Regions from separate parts of the Homo sapiens genome. Here all the other regions are linked to region 2. Evidence: promoter capture Hi-C in 16 types of primary human blood cells and fetal thymus (Javierre and others, 2016). All regions are on one chromosome and are shown on one strand. Each heading gives the region's core, a stretch centred on a gene start or on the middle of the fragment in contact. The rest is flanking DNA. Distances are from core to core; before and after follow the strand shown.

The links. Contacts are between HindIII fragments. The CHiCAGO score rates a contact against its expected background, and 5 or more counts as called.
Region 1: a contact is called between a fragment that was not itself captured here and the fragment with the promoter of DGUOK in region 2, in 6 of 17 cell types (activated CD4 T cells, total CD4 T cells, naive CD8 T cells and 3 more). The highest score is 7.0, in activated CD4 T cells.
Region 3: a contact is called between a fragment that was not itself captured here and the fragment with the promoter of DGUOK in region 2, in 5 of 17 cell types (total CD4 T cells, non-activated CD4 T cells, total CD8 T cells and 2 more). The highest score is 6.3, in total CD4 T cells.

The regions. Positions count from the first base shown.
Region 1 is chr2:74,175,926-74,179,525 of GRCh38, forward strand. MOB1A (MOB kinase activator 1A) reads right to left here and starts at 2,954. Exons shown (of 6, transcript NM_018221.5): 1 at 2,736-2,954. The coding sequence starts at 2,749. RefSeq lists silencers at 614-806, 2,526-2,715 and an enhancer at 1,979-2,662. The HindIII fragment of the contact is 328 bases long and covers 1,959-2,286 here.
Region 2 is chr2:73,925,622-73,929,325 of GRCh38, forward strand. DGUOK (deoxyguanosine kinase) reads left to right here and starts at 1,259. Exons shown (of 7, transcript NM_080916.3): 1 at 1,259-1,431. The coding sequence starts at 1,290. RefSeq lists an enhancer at 1,291-1,560. The HindIII fragment of the contact is 7,290 bases long and covers 1-3,704 here.
Region 3 is chr2:74,160,137-74,163,858 of GRCh38, forward strand. The region is part of intron 4 of MOB1A (MOB kinase activator 1A); the gene reads right to left. Among named protein-coding and RNA genes, the nearest start is that of BOLA3-DT, 14 kb to the left of the region's middle. The HindIII fragment of the contact is 5,606 bases long and covers 1-3,722 here.

The DNA.
Region 1 (3,600 bases), core at 873-3,372, 250 kb after region 2:
TTTGGAATTTAAATAAGACTGATTAAGAAGTAAAAAAGAGCCGGGTGCAGTGGCTCACACCTGTAATCCCAGCACTCTGGGAGGGCAAGGCGGGTGGATCACTTGAGGTCAGGAGTTTGAGACCACCCTGACCAACATAGTGAAACCCCGCCTCTACTACACACACACACACACACACACACACACACACACACACACAAACTAGCCGGGCGTGGTGGCAAGTGCCTGTAATCCCAGCTACTTGGGAGGCTGAGGCAGGAGAATTGCTTGAACCCGGGATGCAGAGGTTGCAGTGAGCTGAGATCGCACCACTGCACTCCAGCCTAGGCAACAGAGTGAGACCCTGTCTCAAAAAAAAAAAAAAAAAAAAAAAGGAGGTAAAAAAGAATGATGAAAACACTAAAAATCATATCTGAAAAGTTTTTAACATGATAAAAAAAACTATATTGAACAAGGAAGAAAATATTTGCAAATCATAGATGTGATAAAGACTTGTATCTAGAATGTATAAAGAAGTCCTACAACTCAAAAAGACAGCCCAATTTAAAAACAGGCAAGGCCGGGCGCAGTGGCTCACGCGTGTAATCCCTGCACTTTGGGAGGCCGAGGTGGGCGGATCACTAGGTCAGGATATTGAGACCATCTTGGCTAACACGGTGAAACCCCGTCTCTACTAAAAACACAAAATATTAGCCAGGCATGGTGGCAGGCGCCTGTAGTCCCAGCTACTTGGGAGACTGAGGCAGGAGAATGGCGTGAACCCGGGAGGCGGAGCTTACAGTGAGCCGAGATTGAGCCACTGCACTCCAGCCTGGGCGACAGAGCAAGACTCTGTCTCAAAAAAAAAAAAAAAGAAAATTAACAAGTGCTATGAGAGGTGTGGGGAAATTGGACCCCTCATAGAGTACTTATGGGAATGTAAAATGGTGCAGCACTTTGAAGTTTGGCAGTTCCTCAAAAGGTTAAACATAGTTACCACTTAAGCCAGCAATTCTGCTCCTAAGTATATACCCAAGAGATATGAACACATACATCCACGCAAAAACCTGTCACATATGTTCACAGCAGCATTATTCATAATGGCCAAAAAGCGGGAACAACTCAAGTGTCCATCAAGAAGGCCAAGTTTTAAAAAAAGAAAGTCTCGGCCGAGTGCGGGAGTGGATCATCTGAGGTCAGGAGTTCGAGACCAGCCTGGCCAACATGATGAAACCCAGTCTCCACTAAAAATACAAAAATGAGCCAGGTGTGGTGGCCGGCGCCTGTAATCCCAGCTACTCGGGAGTGTGAGGCAGGAGAGTCGCTTGAACCCGGGAGGCAGAGGTTGCAGTGAGCCGAGACCGTGCCATCCCCGGAGGCAGAGGTTGCAGTGAGCCGAGACCGTGCCATTGCACTCTAGCCTGGAGGACAGAGCGAAACTCCGTCTCAAAAAATAAAAAAAAAGAAAAAGTCTCGTATTAAGGTCCACAAAGCAACTGTGCATTCACTAATTAAATATCAACTCGTAAGAAAAAAGTGGAGGAGGGAGGAATACTTCTATTAATATGGAAGTTAAATCTAAATCATACAGGCTTTTTGACAAGGTAATCGTATTTTAGAGACCATTCATTTACGAGAATAACCCAAAGGAAGGAAAATGAGACGCAGATAAACATATTCTGAGTAGTGCTATTTTATAATAGTAAATACTGGAAGGAATCCCAGTTTCTCACAATAAAGTGGGTAAACTCTGGTTATAAAAAATAAAAAAAAAACTATATAGTGTTTTTATATTGTATTTAATAAAAATGTCAAGCATGTGGATTACATCCATAACTAAAATTGGATAATTATTCAATCACAAAACACACATTTAAGCAATATACAAGGTAGAGAGAGACACCTGAGAATAAAAAATACTGTGCCAGAGCAATGCTTCTCAAACCTTAATGTGCATAAGAATCATCAGGGAATTTACAAGCTTTTTCATTTTAGCCTTGTTTGGTTGGGCTCAGGCATTATCTCTAAAATGAGATTCTAAGGTATGCCTATCAAGTTAATTGCTGTAGTGCACTAAAATGGCAATACTGTGTTTCTGCAATGGGACTATGAATTTGTTTTAACTTTCCAAATTATTTATAATACTGCAATGTACTATATAATAATGCTGTATGGTATATTACATAATGATTAAAAACACAGGATTCTACCGAGGACAAGAGAAGTTGGTTAAAATCAAAGCCAGTAAGTGGGCAGAATCAGAACTGGACAGAACGATCCGACTCCAAGGCCAGCATCTTAACTTCAAGCTTCTCAAACTGCGGCAACGCACATTCTCCTGGGGCGGCATTTAACACCGACAATAATGAAACTGGACCTATAACCGAGCAACGAGTTAAGTCGGCAAGGACGGTTTCTAGAAGCTCGAGACAAGAGAAACTGGGGGCTCGCGGCTCCGCCCCCAGATCGTCTCCCCGCCCTCGGGGGCGCTCGGGCGGAAAAGTTTGGAGGCGCGACGGCCCCGGGGCCTTTCTACTCCCCAGCCTTCACGCTCCGTTTCCTTTACTTCGACCTTCATCTCTGTCGGCCTCTCCCAACATCTCGGCCTCCCCCGCGGACCCGAACAGAGGCAAAACAAACGCCAGCTACCCCGCCCCCGCCTCGGCCCCCAGGCCGAGCCCTCGCCTCAGGTCCGGGGAGGCCTCCCCCACAACCTCGGCCCGCAGGCCCGGCGCCCGCGGCCCGACCCCACTCACAAGAGGAAGCTCATCTTCGGTCCTCAGAGGGGAGGCGAGGGGCCCCTGGCCCCCGCCTGGATCAGGATTCGGAGCTGGCTAGAGGGAGCGGACCGTCCTTAGCTCACGGGCAGCGGAAGCCGGGCCGCCGCCGCTCGGAGCCGGGTTTCTGGCCGCTGCGAGCCTTTGCAAACCTCGGCGCCCGCCTTGCCCGCCTACCCCACCTCGCAGACCCGAAATGCGGAACCAACAAAATCTCGCGAGCTAAGGTTTCGCTGCGCCGGGAGGGACTTGTCGCGCCCCCTTTCGCTCCGCCTCGTCCTAGAACTCGGCCAATCATCGCTCTCCAAGCCAGGACCTCCCTCCCCCGGAGGCGTGGCGAGGATGGCGGTCCTGCGGAAGGGGCAGTGGCTGGTCCTGCTCTTAGAGTATCTTGGTGCTGCTGGGTTTCGATCCCGCTCCCTAGGTTATGCAGGGACCTCTATAAGCGCTGCGTACTCCTGCAATTTTTAAAATTGTTAATTTAATTTTTACTTGAAATATATTCACATAGCATAAAATCTGTCCTTTAAACATGTACCCTCTAGTGGTCTTTTTCGGTTTTTTCTTTCTTTTTTTTTTTTTTTTCTGAGGTGTCTCGCTCTGTCGCCCAGACTGGAGTTCACAGTTCACTGCAGCCTGGACTTCCTGGGCTTAAGTGATCCTCTCGCCTCAGCCTCCCGAGTAGCTGAGACCACAGGTGCCTGCCACCACGCCCGGCTAATTTTCTCAAAGTTTTTGCAGAGACGAGCGTCTCACTGTGTTGCCCAAGCTGGTCTTGGACTCCTGAGCTCAAGGGATCCTCCTGGTTTGACCTCCCAAAATGCTGGGATCACAGGTGTGAGCC
Region 2 (3,704 bases), core at 9-2,508:
TTTTTTTGTTTTTTGTTTTGTTTTGTTTTGTTTTGTTTTGTTTTAACAGAAGTGGCTGCTGGAGTGGAGATGGGAATGGGTAGGACTTTAGCCGCTCCAGTAGCCATTAACGCCCCACCCTGGTTATCCTTAAAAAATTCGATTAAAAAAAAAGTTCTTAATATATAAACATGACCTCAGCCATCCTATATATACATCAACATAAGAAAAAGGTCCCGTGCTTTTTATGGGAACAGCTTCAAGACAGGTATCCCAGCCCCCGGCCCCTCCCCAGCCCCCTTGCAATCAGATCCTTGTCTTCTAAAACCTGCCACACCTAAGAGCGCTGCCTGAAGGCCGGTTTGGCCTGTTGACTCCTGGTTTTGACTGTTGGTGATTTAAGCGATTGGAACTGGAAGCACCATTTGACAACATTTTGTAAATCATTACTTCTGAGGTTGTTATGACGACGGGGTGTGGCAGTCCGGCTTCACCTGTGGCAGCAGCTTAGGTCCCTGCCCTCCTGCAGAGCACACTTCACCGACAGCAGGACTCAGGTTTTATACAAGTCTCTACTCGCCATTGCTTACGTCCAAGAACCCAGCCTACCAGGTTTAAACAATTTCCAGTCACATACCTGAGCCACCACCACCTTATCCTGAAGGGATTTTTGGGTATAATGCAAATCGATTGACCGAACATTTATTTACTTATTCAAGACACAAACTAAGAGATGGGGTGTAACTGATTATCTAATTTGTTAATTTAGTCAATAATATGCCAGCATTGTGCAGGGGAATTACAGGGAATAGGAAAAAGTTAAATTTGTGTAAATCATCAGATTGAGTCATTTTCCTACTTTAAAACTTCCATTTTCTTCCGATATTAAAATAAAAACCAGACAACAAGCACCTGGGGGGGGGGAAATCCCCTCTTAAAATTACAATTTCTATTTTTAATTTTGTCTTCAGTTATAAAATTTATTTTAAAGTTATACAAAAATGAAGTGGTTGGATTGTGGAATTACGTCTTTTAAAATGTTATTTGTCCAATGAACAAAAACCACTCGCACCGCAACTCCTTTTACTATCAAATTCTGCACCGTTGCAAAACTTCCTTCACTCAACGCTTCTTTACAAACATCGCGATAGCGGAGCGGTCTCTTGGGCGCACCCCGCCGCATGTTCAACCCCACCCACTTCCTGTCTGACGATCTCCTTACGTCAACGGTGCGCTGGAGCGAGTGAGCAGCGATACCTAGGGCGGAAGTGCTCTCGGCGGAAGTGATCGCTGTGTGAATCGTGGGTGGGATGGCCGCGGGCCGCCTCTTTCTAAGTCGGCTTCGAGCACCCTTCAGTTCCATGGCCAAGAGCCCACTCGAGGGCGTTTCCTCCTCCAGAGGCCTGCACGCGGGGCGCGGGCCCCGAAGGCTCTCCATCGAAGGCAACATTGGTAAGGGCCGGAAAGCGGCTGCCAAGCCTTGGCCTCCGCCACGCAGGCGACAGAGGCTGGGAAAGGAGCTGGGCCCGGAATGGCCTGCGTCTGATGCGGCCGGCCTCTTTTTCTGGGCTGCGAGGAGAGCCTTTCCCCTCGCAAAGTGCACTGTGTATCTTTGCCTCCTTGTTTTTAGGATATCGGGCCTCAGTACCCGCCCACAGGAACATATTTGTTGGGGCATAAAAGCCACGCAGTTAGTGGATAGGACAAGAATTGTATTAGCTGTTTGTAATAGATCGAAATTGAAGCGACAAGCGGGTGCAGTTTATTTGTTCTCCTAGATAGGGTTGCCATATTTAGCAGAAATTAAAAATAATATCCAGTTAAAATAGAATTTAAGATAACGAATAATTTTTAGTGTGTGTCCAATGCAATATTTGGGACATCCTTACAGCAAAACAACAACGAAATCACTCATTGAAAGTTCAAATTTAACTGTGTCCTGTATTTTATCTGGCAACCCTATTCGAAGAGAGTTCCTAAATTTCAGTCGTTCAAATACCACATTCACAATTTTTGCCCTGTGCCTGTGCTAGTTGCATAATAATTTCTTAAGGCTTTTCTTAGAAGAACCTCACTTTTTAAACTTAAAAACATGTATTAAATTAAAAATTATTTTGTTAAAAGAGTGAGATCCAGTATCTTGAATAAAAAGTAGTCAGAAAGCAAAATGAAGGCAAAGCATTTCGATTTAATATTAATAAATTCTGACTTGATACTTTTATCTACCAAGTCACTGAGCCCCTAAAAGGGGCTTAGCAAGTGTTGAGTACTGAAGACGTAGCAGCAAACTGAGAATTTCTTTTTTTATTCATTCAACAAATCACCTTTTGAGCCACTTCCATATGCCAGCACTGTTCTTGGCCTGGAGAATACAGCTGTGAATAGAACAAATAAAAATCTCTGCTCTCATGGAACTCAAGTAGGGAGAGATGGACAATAAACAACATAAATTAAGCAAGGTGAACAATATGTTAGAGAGTAATAAGTATGATGGAGAAAAATTAGGGATGAAGAATTGAGGGAAGTTTTTATTTTATTTTATTTGAGATGGAGTTTTGCTCTTGTTACCCAGGCTGGAGTGCAATGACACGATCTCGACTCACTGCAACCTCTGCCTCCCTGGTTCAAGCGATTCTCCTGCCTCAGCCTCCCGAATAGCTGGGATTAGGGGCACCCGCCACCACACCCAGTTAATTTTTGTTTTGTTAGTAGAGACAGGGTTTCACCATGTTGGCCAGGCTGGTCTCAAACTCCTAACCTCAGGTGATCCGCCTGCCTCGGCCTCCCAAAGTGCTGGGATTATAGGCGTTAGCCACTGCACCTGGCCGAAGTTGTCATTTTAAATAAAATAAGCAAGGCCTCACTGAGAAGGTGACATCTGAGCAAAAAACTGAAGATGAGGGAGCAAATCACGTGGATACCTGGGAGAAGAATCTTCTAGGCAGAGTGAAGAGCAATTGGAAAGGCCCTGAGGTGGAAAGTGTGTTCGGGGAATAGGAGGGAAATCGTTGTGACTGAAGTCGAGTGAGCAAGGATGGGAGGGAAATTAGGGCAAAAGCCCAAGGGGTGGCCAGATTTTATAGGCCTTATCATGGGTTTTTAATCTTACCGAGATGGGTAGCCATTGGAAGGTTTGAGGAGTCAAGTGACAGTTTTACTTAGATTATAAAAAGATCACTGTGGCTGATAACATTGAAAGTGAAGAGTGTTAAGTGGTATTGCAATAATTATAGTATTGTGAAAAGTGAAAGTGGTGAGACGTGATTGGATTCTAGTTATACGTTAACAAAAATTGAGTTACATTTTAAGTAAAATTTAACAGTGGAAGTGGTGAGAAATGATTGGGTTCTAGTTATATTTTAAGATAGGGCCAATTGGATTTGGTGACAGGTTGAATGCAGAGTGTAAGGTAAAGAGAGGGGCCAATGATGACTCCAATTATTTTGACTTGAGTACTTGAAAGATAGACTCCTGATTTTCTTTTATTTCCTCCTCTCCTTCTTCCTCCCCTCCCCTCGCTTCCCCTCCTTTGGTGTGGTCTTGCCCTGTTGCCAGGCTAGAATACAGTGATGCAATTGCATCTCACTGCAGCCTGCCTCCCAGGCTCAAGCCATCCTCCCACCTTAGCCTCTTGAGTAGCTGGATCCACAGGTGTTTGCCACTATGCGTGGCTAATTTTGTATATTTTTTGTAGAGACAGGGTCTCACTATATTTTCCAGGCTGG
Region 3 (3,722 bases), core at 393-2,892, 230 kb after region 2:
AGAGTAAGTATTTTGATCATAAATATTTTTACTTTGTAATTTGTAACTCTAAAGAAATTACACTGGCTCCGTGTGGTGGCTCGTGCCTGTAATCCAGCACGTTGAGAGGCCGTAGTGGACAGATTGCCTGAGCTCATAAGCCTGAGTTCAAGATAAGCCTGAGCAACAAGGTAAAACCTCATCCCTTAGGAAAAAAAAGAAGAAATTACATACATACGCACTCTCTCAATGAGGACTGGAAACTCTCCTAAGCAAAATAAAAAGGCAGCCGGGCACAGTGGCTCACGCCTGTAATCCCAGCACTTTGGGAGGCCGAGGGGGGCAGATCACGAGGTCAGGAGGTCAAGACCAGCCTGGCCAAAGAGACCAGCTTGGCCAACATGGTGAAACCCCATCTCTACTAAAAATACAAAAATTAGCCAGGGGTGGTGGCAGGCAACTGTAATCCCAGCTACTCGGGAGGCTGAGGCAGAGAATTGCTTGAACCCGGGAGGTGGAGGTTGCAGTGAGCCGAGATCGCGCCACTGCACTCCAGCCTGGGTGACAGAGCGAGACTCCGTCTCAAAAAAAAAAAGAAATCTCTTTTTAGAAAACAACGGGGGTAGAGTTTGGTATCCTTCCAAGCAGTGGAGATGGGGATCCAACTGGTTACATTCCTGAGAATTTTGGCTGACAATATCAAAGTCCATTAGAAAACAGGGACAGACAGGTCAGGAGTTCGAGACCAGCCTGACCAACATGGTGAAACCCTGTCTCTACTAAAAATACAAAAATTAGCCAGACGTGGTGACTAAGGCCTGTAATCCTAGCTACTCAAATGGCTGAGGCAGAAGAATCGCTTGAACCCAGGAGGCGGAGGTTGCAGTGAGCCAAGATTGCCGCCACTGCACTCCAGTCTGGGCGGCAGAGTGAGACTCCATCTCAAAAAATAAAAATAAAAATAAACCTACATTAGTTGGCCTTAAAGGCCTGTTCCACAACGCTACTCTTGAAACACATTCTTTTTTTCAATTTTTCAGAAAACAAAGGCTTAAAACACTCTTTCCTTGCATTTTTTTCCCAGCCAGTTCTCAATAACCTGAAACTTATTTTGCTGATGTTTGTGGTTATTCTCCACCACCACCCCAGTCCTCATTAACGTGACTTTTCAGACATTATCCTGGAGCTTACAGGCATGTTTTCCTGGGCAGGATCTTGTATTCATGTATTGAAAAAGCAGATTTCTGGCCGGGTGCAGTGGCTCATGCCTGTAATCCCAGCACTTTGGGAGGCCGAGGCGGGCGGATCATGAGGTCAGGAGATCGAGACCATCCTGGCTAACACAGTGAAACCCTGTCTCTACTAAAAATACAAAAATTAGCCAGGCGTGGTGGCGGCACCTGTAGTCCCAGCTACTCGGGAGGCTGAGACAGGAGAATGGCAGAATGGCGTGAACCCGGGAGGCGGAGCTTGCAGTGTGCTGAGATCATGCCACTGCACTCCAGCCTGGGCAACAGAGTGAGACTCCGCCTCAAAAAAAAAAAAAAGCAGTATTCTGGCCAGGTGCAGTGGCTCATGCCTGTAATCTCAAGCTCTTTGGGAGACTGAAGCAGAAAGGTTGCTTGGGCCTAGAAGTTTGAGACCAGTCTGGGCAACACAGTGAGACCTCGTGTCTACAAAAAATTGAAAATTAGCTGGGCGTGGTGGCACACGTGCCTGTGGTCTCAGCTACTCAAGTGGCTGATGTAGAAGGACCACTTGCGCCTGGGAGGTCAAGTCCACAGTGAGCTGTAACTGCACCACTGCACTCTAGCCTGGGCAACAGAGTGAGAGTCTGTCTCAAAAAAAAAAGTAGATTTCAAAATCAAACATCTTTTTTTATCAGAATGTATAAATGGGCATCTTTCTAATAAAAGGATATTAATAATGTGCATATATTAGTAAAAAATTAATGATAAACAGTTCTGTCTGAGACTAAATAACTGGCAAAAGTAAGATGCAGATAATAGCCTAATGGCAGGGGAGTGGGATTAAGAGGTGGTGGATCAGAATGAATTATTTAAGAACAAGAAAGTGAGAAAAAAGCCAGGCATGGTGGCTCATGCCTGTAATTCCAGCACTTTGGGAGGCCAAAGTGGGTGAATCACTTGAGGTCAGGAGTTCGAGACCAGCCTGGCCAACATGGTGAAACCCTGTCTCTACCTAAAACTACAAAAACTAGCCAGGTGTGGTGGTGGGCGCCTGTAGTCCCAGCTACTTGGAGGCTGAGGCACGAGAATCGCTTCAACCCAGGAAGTGGAGGTTGCAGTAGAGCCGAGACTGTGCCACTGCCCTCCAGCCTGGGTGACAGAGTGAGACCCTGTCTCCAAACAAAAAAGAGAGAAAAGAGGATAAATCAAAAGAATTATTTACCTTCCATAAGCAGAGACTTTAATGAGTAAAGAAATAAGTAATTTGTTTAAATCTAAACACTTTCCAAGCTGAATTTAACAGATATATTCAAGCACAGTCAATATAAAATAAAGATATATGAGAAAGGAAATAAAAGGTTTAATAGCAGAATGGAAAAACTGACCAACAACAAACAGACCAAATGTTAACAACTTGGAAAAAAACTGTTGTCCTGAAAAGCCTCTATAAGACTGCAAAAAGGAATTCAAAAATATGTTGCTCATAAAATACTCTTAAGTTGAAAATGACAAGGAGTGATTTCATCCATGAATACTGATGCCAAACTCTTAATCAAAATATTAACAAATACTCTTCCAGCAGAATATTTTTATTAAAAAATGGAGAAAACCTTATGGTCATAGGCAACAGATACTGGAAAAGCATCTGATAAACTCTATAGCCATTCCTCGTTAAGAACAATTTTTGTAATATAAATGGTGGATATTTTTCATTAATATAATTTTTTAAAAATCCATACACCTCTAACCAAAAGCCAAGATTTCGGCTTACTGCAGAAATACTAGAAGTACTTGCATAATAGTAAGAAGGCAAGAAACGGATGTCTGCCATCATCACCATTACTCGGCATTGCGCTTGAAATACCACTCAGTGCAATCAGATAAGCAAGCGTAAAAACAAGAATACATTATCAGAAAGGAAGAGACAAAATGAACACTATCTTAATATGACACAGTTGTATACTTTAAAAATTCAAGAGAACCAACCAAAAACTAACAGAAAAAGAGTCTGATGGTTAATTATAAAATTTAAATAAAAATCAACAGCTGGCCAGTCCTGGTGGCTGACACCTGTAATTCCAACACTTTTGGAAGGCCAAGGAAGGAGGGATGCTTGAGCCCTGGAGTTCGAGACCAGCCTGGGCAACATAATGAGACCTCATCTCTACAAAAAATAAACAAAATTAGCCAGGTGTAGTGGTGCGTGCCTACAGTCCCAGTTACTTGGGAAGCTAAGGTGGGAGGATCACTGGAGCCCAGGAGATCAAGGCTGCAGAGAGCTGTGATCACACCCCTGCACTCCAGGCTGGGGAACAGAGTGAGACCCTGTCTCAAAAAAAATTAAAAATAAATTACAATAAAAACCAACAGCTTTCCTATATACTAAATAACCAGCTGGAAACCAGATTATCAATAAAAGACATAAAATCCCTAGAATAAAATTAAGAAACTTGAACAACTGACATAAACTACAGAATTTTACAAGAGAAAATAAAGCTAAAGACATGAATAAATGAACAATATCTTGTTCTTGGCTAGGAAGATTCAGTAAAA